Regions from separate parts of the Homo sapiens genome. Here regions 2 and 3 are each linked to region 1. The links are contacts of gene promoters, found by promoter capture Hi-C in blood cells and fetal thymus (Javierre and others, 2016). All regions are on one chromosome and are shown on one strand. The core of a region is centred on a gene start or on the middle of the fragment in contact, and the rest is flanking DNA. Distances in the headings are between cores, read along the strand shown. Region 1 holds the start of GJD3 (gap junction protein delta 3). Region 2 holds the start of KRT28 (keratin 28). Region 3 holds the start of KRT222 (keratin 222).

Evidence for each region. The method cuts DNA at HindIII sites, captures the fragments that hold promoters and counts their contacts. A CHiCAGO score of 5 or more calls a contact.
Region 2: a contact is called between the fragment with the promoter of KRT28 here and the fragment with the promoter of GJD3 in region 1, in 5 of 17 cell types (naive B cells, total B cells, naive CD8 T cells and 2 more). The highest score is 13.7, in naive B cells.
Region 3: a contact is called between the fragment with the promoter of KRT222 here and the fragment with the promoter of GJD3 in region 1, in 4 of 17 cell types (naive B cells, total CD8 T cells, activated CD4 T cells and 1 more). The highest score is 7.0, in naive B cells.

The regions. Positions count from the first base shown.
Region 1 is chr17:40,363,427-40,366,037 of GRCh38, forward strand. It overlaps GJD3 (gap junction protein delta 3), which reads right to left and starts at 1,311. Exons shown (of 1, transcript NM_152219.4): 1 at 1-1,311. The coding sequence starts at 389. GJD3-AS1 (GJD3 antisense RNA 1) reads left to right here. Exons shown (of 1, transcript NR_186704.1): 1 at 1-2,009. The HindIII fragment of the contact is 7,280 bases long and covers 1-2,611 here.
Region 2 is chr17:40,798,637-40,801,247 of GRCh38, forward strand. It overlaps KRT28 (keratin 28), which reads right to left and starts at 1,323. Exons shown (of 8, transcript NM_181535.3): 1 at 808-1,323; 2 at 281-363. The coding sequence starts at 1,257. RefSeq lists an enhancer at 1-501. The HindIII fragment of the contact is 3,919 bases long and covers 1-2,611 here.
Region 3 is chr17:40,663,884-40,666,494 of GRCh38, forward strand. KRT222 (keratin 222) reads right to left here and starts at 1,294. Exons shown (of 6, transcript NM_152349.3): 1 at 1,121-1,294. The coding sequence starts at 1,216. The HindIII fragment of the contact is 3,418 bases long and covers 480-2,611 here.

The DNA.
Region 1 (2,611 bases), core at 61-2,560:
CGGGCGCGCAGGGCGCACGGCGCGCACTGGGCCTCGGGCAGTCCGGGGGCGCACTGCGCCGCCGCCTCAGCGCCGCCCGCCTCCTTGCCTGCCCGGTGCATGGAGTAGACGACGAACAGCACCGGGGGCGCCGAGAGCAGCAGGATGTGGAAGAGCCAGAAGCGGTAGTGGGAGACCGGGAAGGCGCGGTCGTAGCAGGTCTGGCGACAGCCCGGCTGCAGCGTGTTGCACACGAACTCCTCTTGCTCGTCCTCGAACACGGCGCCGCCCACCGTGGCCAGCACCAGGATGCGGAAGATCAGCATGACCACCAGCCAGAGGCGGCCCACGAGCGGCGACTGCAGCTGCACGGCGTCCAGCAGCGAGCCCAGGAACGCCCACTCCCCCATGGCGCTGGGGACGCGGGGCGGGGAGTCAGGGGATGGGGCAAGTCAGGGACCCCTGCCCCTTCCAAGCCTATCGGGGTGGGGTCCGTTGGACCTTCTCTGACTTCAGGGTGAGTCGTGAGGTAGGAGAGGCCCGGGTTTAGCGATGAGACCAGTATGAAACGGAGGGCCACGGGAGGGCCCGAGGGGAGCAGGCGACGCTCAGCTATGGGTTACCTTCTCTTTGGGACCGATGGGTGCTGGGGAGGATCCCCCATTTGCATTTTAGCCGCACCCCCTGAGCCGTCTCCGTTCGACCCTGGGATCCTCCAGATCCCAGATTCTTAGGAAGGACCTTGGAGATCAGCTGGACCAGCCCCTGACTTGCCTGGTTTCGGAAGCGGAAACCCAGCGGTGCCCTTAGCTGTCAAGGATGCTGTGGGAAGAGTGGAGCCTCGAACCCGAGACGCTAGACCCAATTTGGTGCCCATGGGAGGAGTGGGAGTGGCAGAGGCAGCGAGACCACTCCTTTCTTGGCCCACCATTTCTCTCACCATTTTTACTGCAGTGAACTCCTCTCAGGGTGGGGGGCTGGTACAGAGGCAACTCCGCTTTCATAACTCTCACAGGGTCCTTTGTCGGAGGTGTCCCTGCCCTCCTACCCCAGCGTGGTGGGAGTGCGACGCCAGGCTTCTCCCTCCTCCCTGGCCTCCTGTGCCTCCAGCCTCCACATCTCCTGAGATCCTCCCCACCCCACACTTACACAGGTCCCCACACGCCCCTGGTGCCCCTAAACCGCCACCCAACCCCACTCACCCTGGGGCCGGGACTGGGGTGTCAGAGCTGAGCCAGGGACCTTGGGAGGTGGCTGGGACCGGCGCCTCCTGCTCCCTCTTTCATTTTCCCTTTCGGATTTGGCCAGGATGGAGGACAGGACAGGATGGCTGAGAGGGGCTAGCGCTCCCCCTTCTCTTAAAGGAACAGGGTGACCCTGCTGGCTGGCTCCGCCCTTGGGAACAGGCACGGACCACGCCCCTTGCTGGGCTCTGTGGCCCTCACTCTTTAGCTAAATTTCCATCTGGAAATGGGGGAGGGGGGTAACCAGAGCCACATCCTTTATCGAGGAAGCTGGGGGATTCCTAGAAGCCCTTCCCAGACAGACCCTCAGTCTGGAGCCTAGATCCACTACGCACTAACCATGCCCTGTGAAGATGGTCTTCGGGGACAGAGGGAGGTTTGGTGCTGGAGTTTAAGGGGCAGCAAACATCTAACAGCTTCTGGTTCCAGCTCTGCCACCGCTCACCTTGGACAAATCATTCGGCGGTACTGAGCCAGGCTTTCCTGCCTTGTCAACAAAGGCGGCCAGTCCAGCTGACCCCCAAGTTTCCTTCCAGCTTTACATCTTTTTTGGAACGGGGTCTCTCTACATAGCCCAGGTCGATCTTGAACTCCTGGCTTCAAGTGATCCTCACACCTTAGCCTCCTGAGTAGCTGGGATTCTCTACTTCTTAATATTGAATTCCCAACCATATTACAGAGAACCAAAAAAACCCTTGTGCCTGCAAAAAAAAAAAAAAAAAAAAAAATCCCATATGGAAAACCATTAAAATATCCCAAGTGCCTGGCTTTGATAGTTAAATAAAATCTTTGGTTTCCTTCCCACTTTTCTGTTATTTCCAGCTTTACTATAATGAACATGTTATTTATTTATTTATTTTTAATTTGTTTGTTTTGAGATGGAGTCTAGCTCTGTCGCCCAGGCTGGAGTGCAGTGGCATGATCTTGGCTGAATGCAACCTCCGCCTCCCGGGTTCAAGCGATTCTCCTGCCTCAGCCTCCCCAGTAGCTGGGATTACAGGTGTGCGCCACCACGCCCGGCTAATTTTTGTATTTTTAGTAGAGGTGGGGTTTCGCCATGTTGACCAGGCTGATCTCGAACTCTTGACCTCAAACAATCCGCCTATCTCAGCCTCCCAAAGTGCCGGGATTACAGGCGTGAGCTACCACACCCGGCCTAACATGTTATTTTATTATTTATTTATTTATTTATTTATTGAGACAGAGTTTTGCTCTTGTTGCCCAGGCTGGAGTGCAGTGGTGTGATCTCAGCTCACCGCAACCTCCTCCTCCCGGGTTCAAGCGATTCTCCTGCCTCAGCCTCCTGAATAGCTGGGATTACAGGCATGTGCCACCATGCCCAGCTAATTTTGTATTTTTAATAGAGACAGGATCTCTCCATGTTGGTC
Region 2 (2,611 bases), core at 73-2,572, 440 kb after region 1:
TTTATTTTAGTTAACGTTTTTCCTTAGTTGACTAATGATTTACTGAGCATCTACTTTGTGCTTGGCAGTATTCTAGGCAGGCAGAGAAATATATTGATATTTTGTCCCAGGAATATAATAACTATGTATAAGTTGATTGTAACATTATAATACAAATCCTTTGCTTCCTTTTATCTTTTAGGTGATAGTTCATTCTACTTGGGATGAAATAGAAATTTTATTTAACAAATTAAATAAATAGAAACTTTTTTCTAGAGCAGGATTTTCTTCTGTCACTTACTTTAGCCTGAAATCATCAGCAGCCAGTCTGGCATTATCAATCTGCAGAATGACATTAGCATTAGTAGTAGTGGAGGAGATAATCTAGAATAAACCAAAACAGAGAACACAACAAGTAAGTATGCTTTTATGTGATTCATTATTTCAGGAAATGAAAAAGGTTACTCAAGTTTTTGCATAAAAATTTCACCTCCTTATGTAATAATCAAAATGTTTCAAGTTTAACTTTTAAAAATTAAAGACATGGTTTTATTTATTCTCATATATTCCCCTAAATTTAGAACTACAATACTTTTTTATTCATATGCCTATGAATGTACTTCAACATAAACAATGGAACTAATAACATTTTAACTACATTAAAATTCATGAATCAAAGGGCCCATTTTTGAATAGTAGGAAGAATTGTTTATCTAAATAAATAAATACAAGTTATAACAGTCATGAAGCATTTCTTATTGTATGTCTTTTGTTAGGTATTTCTTAGTTTTAAATACTTGGGTTAGTTCCAAATCTGTGATTTCTCACCTTATTCTTAAGATCCTCAATTGTTAGGTGATATCTGCTATAGTCATGATCAAGTCCACGGCAAGATCCAGGTCCGTATTTTTCATACCAACCCTTGATTTTTCTCTCTAATTCAGCATTTGCCTCCTCCAGAGCTCGCACATTATCCAGGTAGGATGCCAAGCGGTCATTAAGATTTTGCATGGTCACCTTCTCATTTCCAGAGAGGAGTCCCCCTTCGCTTCCAGCAAAGCCAATACAAGCAGCATTTCCAAGGGCACCACCAGCATGGCTCCCACCAGGAACACTGCCCAAGCCCCCTCCCAAGGCACAGGAAAATTCACTTCCAGCAACAGAGCCACCACATGCACTGCTGCCTGCAAAGCCTGCACCTCCATTGAGGGGTCTGACAGATCCAGCTCCAGACCTTAAGCAAACATGCCTGGATCCATTAGAAAATTGGAGAGACATGGTGTTTTGAGAAATGTTCACCTTGTCTATGCAAAACTGTAATGTCCCAAGAGAACAGAATATCATGCACTGATAATTTCTTTGGGTTTTTATATATCATTATTGGGGCGTTCCTATTTGAGTTATACATGCCAAAAGCAAAATGGCATCACTTAGATTAGCATAAAATTATGTATAATTGGGTGATTTTAAAAATAATTAATGTCTAACATCCCTCGGTGTTGCTTTGGGCTATTTCTTATCTTAAATATAATAGGGTTTGTTCTATATTAAGTTTATTAATTTAACTTCTAATTTTGAGTGAGTAATCCTTTCCTTTCATCTAGACCCTAGGCATATACTGTCATTATCTGGCGCCAGGTATTATCAAATTTTTTATAAAGTTAAGTAAGATTATGATAGAGTTCTGTGAGGTACAGTAGGGTCTCAATTACCATGGAGGGGTATAAAGGACTGCTAATTACAGAAACAGATATTTTATCCCACCAGAAAAAAATGTGTTATTTAGAAAACAGAGGCTAGTGACATCTCTGTTCTTACCATGATTATAACATCTATTTATTATCTTGGACAATGACACAAATATTGACCTATTATTTTGTTTAAAATAGCATGGTTATGATGTTTGGTGCTCTATGCTAAGTGCTAAAATGAAAGACATAGTGTTAACTAAATGCAGAAGTGAAAAATGCGTGATTACAATCTTTAAGAAATCTATTGTCAGGTCCAGACAGGGGCTGGATCATGGTTAGCTTTCTGTGCTGGTCTAAAGAGTTTGTAATGAATCCTAAGTAAAAAGCAGAGGGCAAAATGATCAGGTTGAAATGAAACAAGGTGGTCAATTACAAGGTTGGAATAATGGTCCAGGTGAGAAGGATGAAGGCAGTGGGGATGCAGAGAAGATGGCTTTGAGAGCATATGGTAATATGATTGAATTTGGAGAGTAGGGAATAAGGCAGAATTGGGGATAACTCTTAGGTAATTAATTTTAGATTCTGGGAACTCATAATATTCACTGAGATGGGGAATAGAGGAGGAGGAAGACACTGAGTTTAGGTTTGGACCAACTGGATTTGAGGGGTTGCCAGAATGTTCCAGATGAAGGTGACTGATAGCAAGAATGACTGTTTAGAATATGTATACTGAACTGGAAAAATACTTGACTAGCAATGAGTAAAAGAAAATTGGAGGGTCCAGCTCTCATTTATAATGATGTTCAACTGCATATTTGGAAGTAATCCTGGTGCAGGAATAGAAAGGATGATGATCAGATTGATGTGGGTTTTGGGATTTGAAGACAGGTCCAGAAGAAGGAAATAGTGGCAAAGAAATTTCTGGTGTTCTTGAGAAAACA
Region 3 (2,611 bases), core at 44-2,543, 300 kb after region 1:
TTGTCATCTATTGATTTTTTTCTTCTGTTTGTAAAGGTGAATGAACTATCCCAATGCTTACCTGTACCAGTGACTTTGCTTAATCTAAGATGTTGATCATTCTTTATGAAGGCTGAAAATGTTATCTAGAGGTGAAATTTACAATGGAACTAAAAATGAGTGGCTAATGGAATAAAGGCCTGACATTTTTCTACCAATTTTTTTTTTTAAAATTTTGGGTGATATTCTTAAGTAAACTTTTTGCTGTATTTCAGGGTTTGGAAGATAACTTGAACCCATATATGATAGGTAAACTAAAAAATCCCCTAAATTTCTTAATCTTTGTTTCTAAAATATTTGTTTGTAAATTTGTTTAAAGACTTGAGACCTTAATTACTTGCTGAAGGTGATTGTTACTTTAAAACTAAGTCTATGAAATTAGGATTTAGTCCTTATCTAAGTAGGCTCTCTTTCTCTTTTTTAAATACTTAAATATTACAAGCTTTGTAATGGAAAGAAATGTTTCTCATCTTATAGTACAGAAGCAAAAATCTTAGTGGAGAATCGTTACCAATTTGGGGAATTTCAATGGTCATAATTTATATCATTGTTTCTGAATGCCATGTTCACACACTCAGATGATTTCTATTTATAACAATCTGGTATAAAATGGAACTCGTTAAAAAGATGATAGAAACCTTTTAGAAATATCTCTAGAAAGTGTACATGCTAATAAATCTTACTTAAAGATTTTTCATTTTAAAGATGTTATTTAAATTATCTCTGTAAATAACTCCAATAATATCTTTGAAGGGTATTTGGAATGGTTCCTTCCTGAAGATTGTAAGAGGTTAGAGTGCACCATTTTATGGTATGTTGACCCCATGTTAATGATAGGAACCTCACAATTTATATAAAAATCAAATGCATCAATCAACACTTACTTAATGGCAATTTAACAATATAATCACAGTATTTCCCCCTGTAGTCCCAGTCACACTGCAGTAGAAGCTAAATTCCTTCCCCAATAGATGCTGCATCGAAAAGGAAATACTGTACCTCAGAGAGGCCGGGACAGGAATTGGGTAGACATGGACTGTCTCCTTATTCTGGAAGGTGCCTGTCTGTATGAAATCATTACCTGGATCCTTGTTGAGAGCACCGTCTCTATCTGATTTCTGGTGAGGATCTTTTCATAGTTTGCCCTGATCTCATTGAGTAGCTGGGACAGTTCCATTCTTTTCCCATCCTCCACCTTGGCTAACTGAACCTTATCGATAGGATGAGTCGCTGCGGCAGTCTGCTCGGTCTGCGCGGAAGGCAGGGAGCCTCGCAGAGTTTTAAAGATGCAGAGCTCCTTTTTCGGAGGCCACGGAAATTCTCATCTTTCTAACTAATTATGCAAATACAGGGTAAACTCTTTGCTCCTATTGTTATTGGTATAGTAGAAATGTCAGATTCTTCATGAAGGAAAGGAAAATTTCAAAAACCTGTACTGGTTCCCTGTAAAAATTGAGCACTTTGAGGGGAGGGGGAGTTCATTTTTGTGAAAAGGAAATGGGGCATAACATAAGAAAATTGCCGGGCATGGTGGCTCATGCCTGTAATCCCAGCACTTTAGGAGGTTGAGGTGGGTGGATCACCTGAGGTCGGGAGTTCGAGATCAGCCTGGCCAACATGATGAAACCCTGTCTTTACTAAAAATACAAAAATTAGCTGGGCGTGGTGGTGGGTGCCTGTAATCCCAGCTACTCGGGAGGCTGAGGCAGGAGAATTGCTTGAACCCAGGAGGTGGAGGTTGCAGTGAGCCGAGATTGAGCCACTGCACTCCAGCCTGGGTGACAGAGTGAGACTCCATCTCCAAAAAAAAAAAAAAAAAAAAAAAAGAAAATTATATTTAGTTTTCTCAAAATGTTGCAGATAAGTGCTGGTAGACTATGAGAGTTGTGAGTTAACATTTCCAAAGTTTTAACAAGGATGAAGAAATAGACCTTTTGGTGTATTCACCAAAAGAACCCTTGAGTCCTTTGGAGGGTGTAGTCAGTGTACCATTCCATCCAATCGTTGCAATCACTTGAGCCCTTCGGAGGGTGTATTTGGCGTATCATTCCATCCAATCCTTGCAATCCCTGACATTTTCTAACCTGTAAAGATGAAAAGACTGAGGCCAGAGAGGTTGAGGCATCTTGCCCAAGGTTGCTCAGTGATGTATGACATCACTGGGACTGGCTCTTTGACAACTTGCTTGTGTTCCATGTATTACCCCTGCATATCTGCCTCTGCGTTCTCTCTCTCCCCTTCTAAATTCCTGGTTTAATCTTGCCAGCTGGTTGCTAGATGTGACAGAAATATGTCGTGAGAGTGGATCTATCATTATTGTTATTTGTGGAGTGGCTTTGGCTGAATTGTATCTGGAGCACAGTTCAGGAGATAATCAGACCTGGGTTCTAGCCCTTACAGGGCCTTTGCATGCATGTCCTGCTCTTTTAATTTCTGAATTAACTCACATCTGGCCAGGCCAGTCTATGCTGGGCATTCTCACAGCCCTCTCCAAACAAAGCTGTCCTACCCACAGCTCCTGGTGAGAGGAGAGGTTCCAGGTTATTTCTGACCCACCCCTCCCTACCTCCTG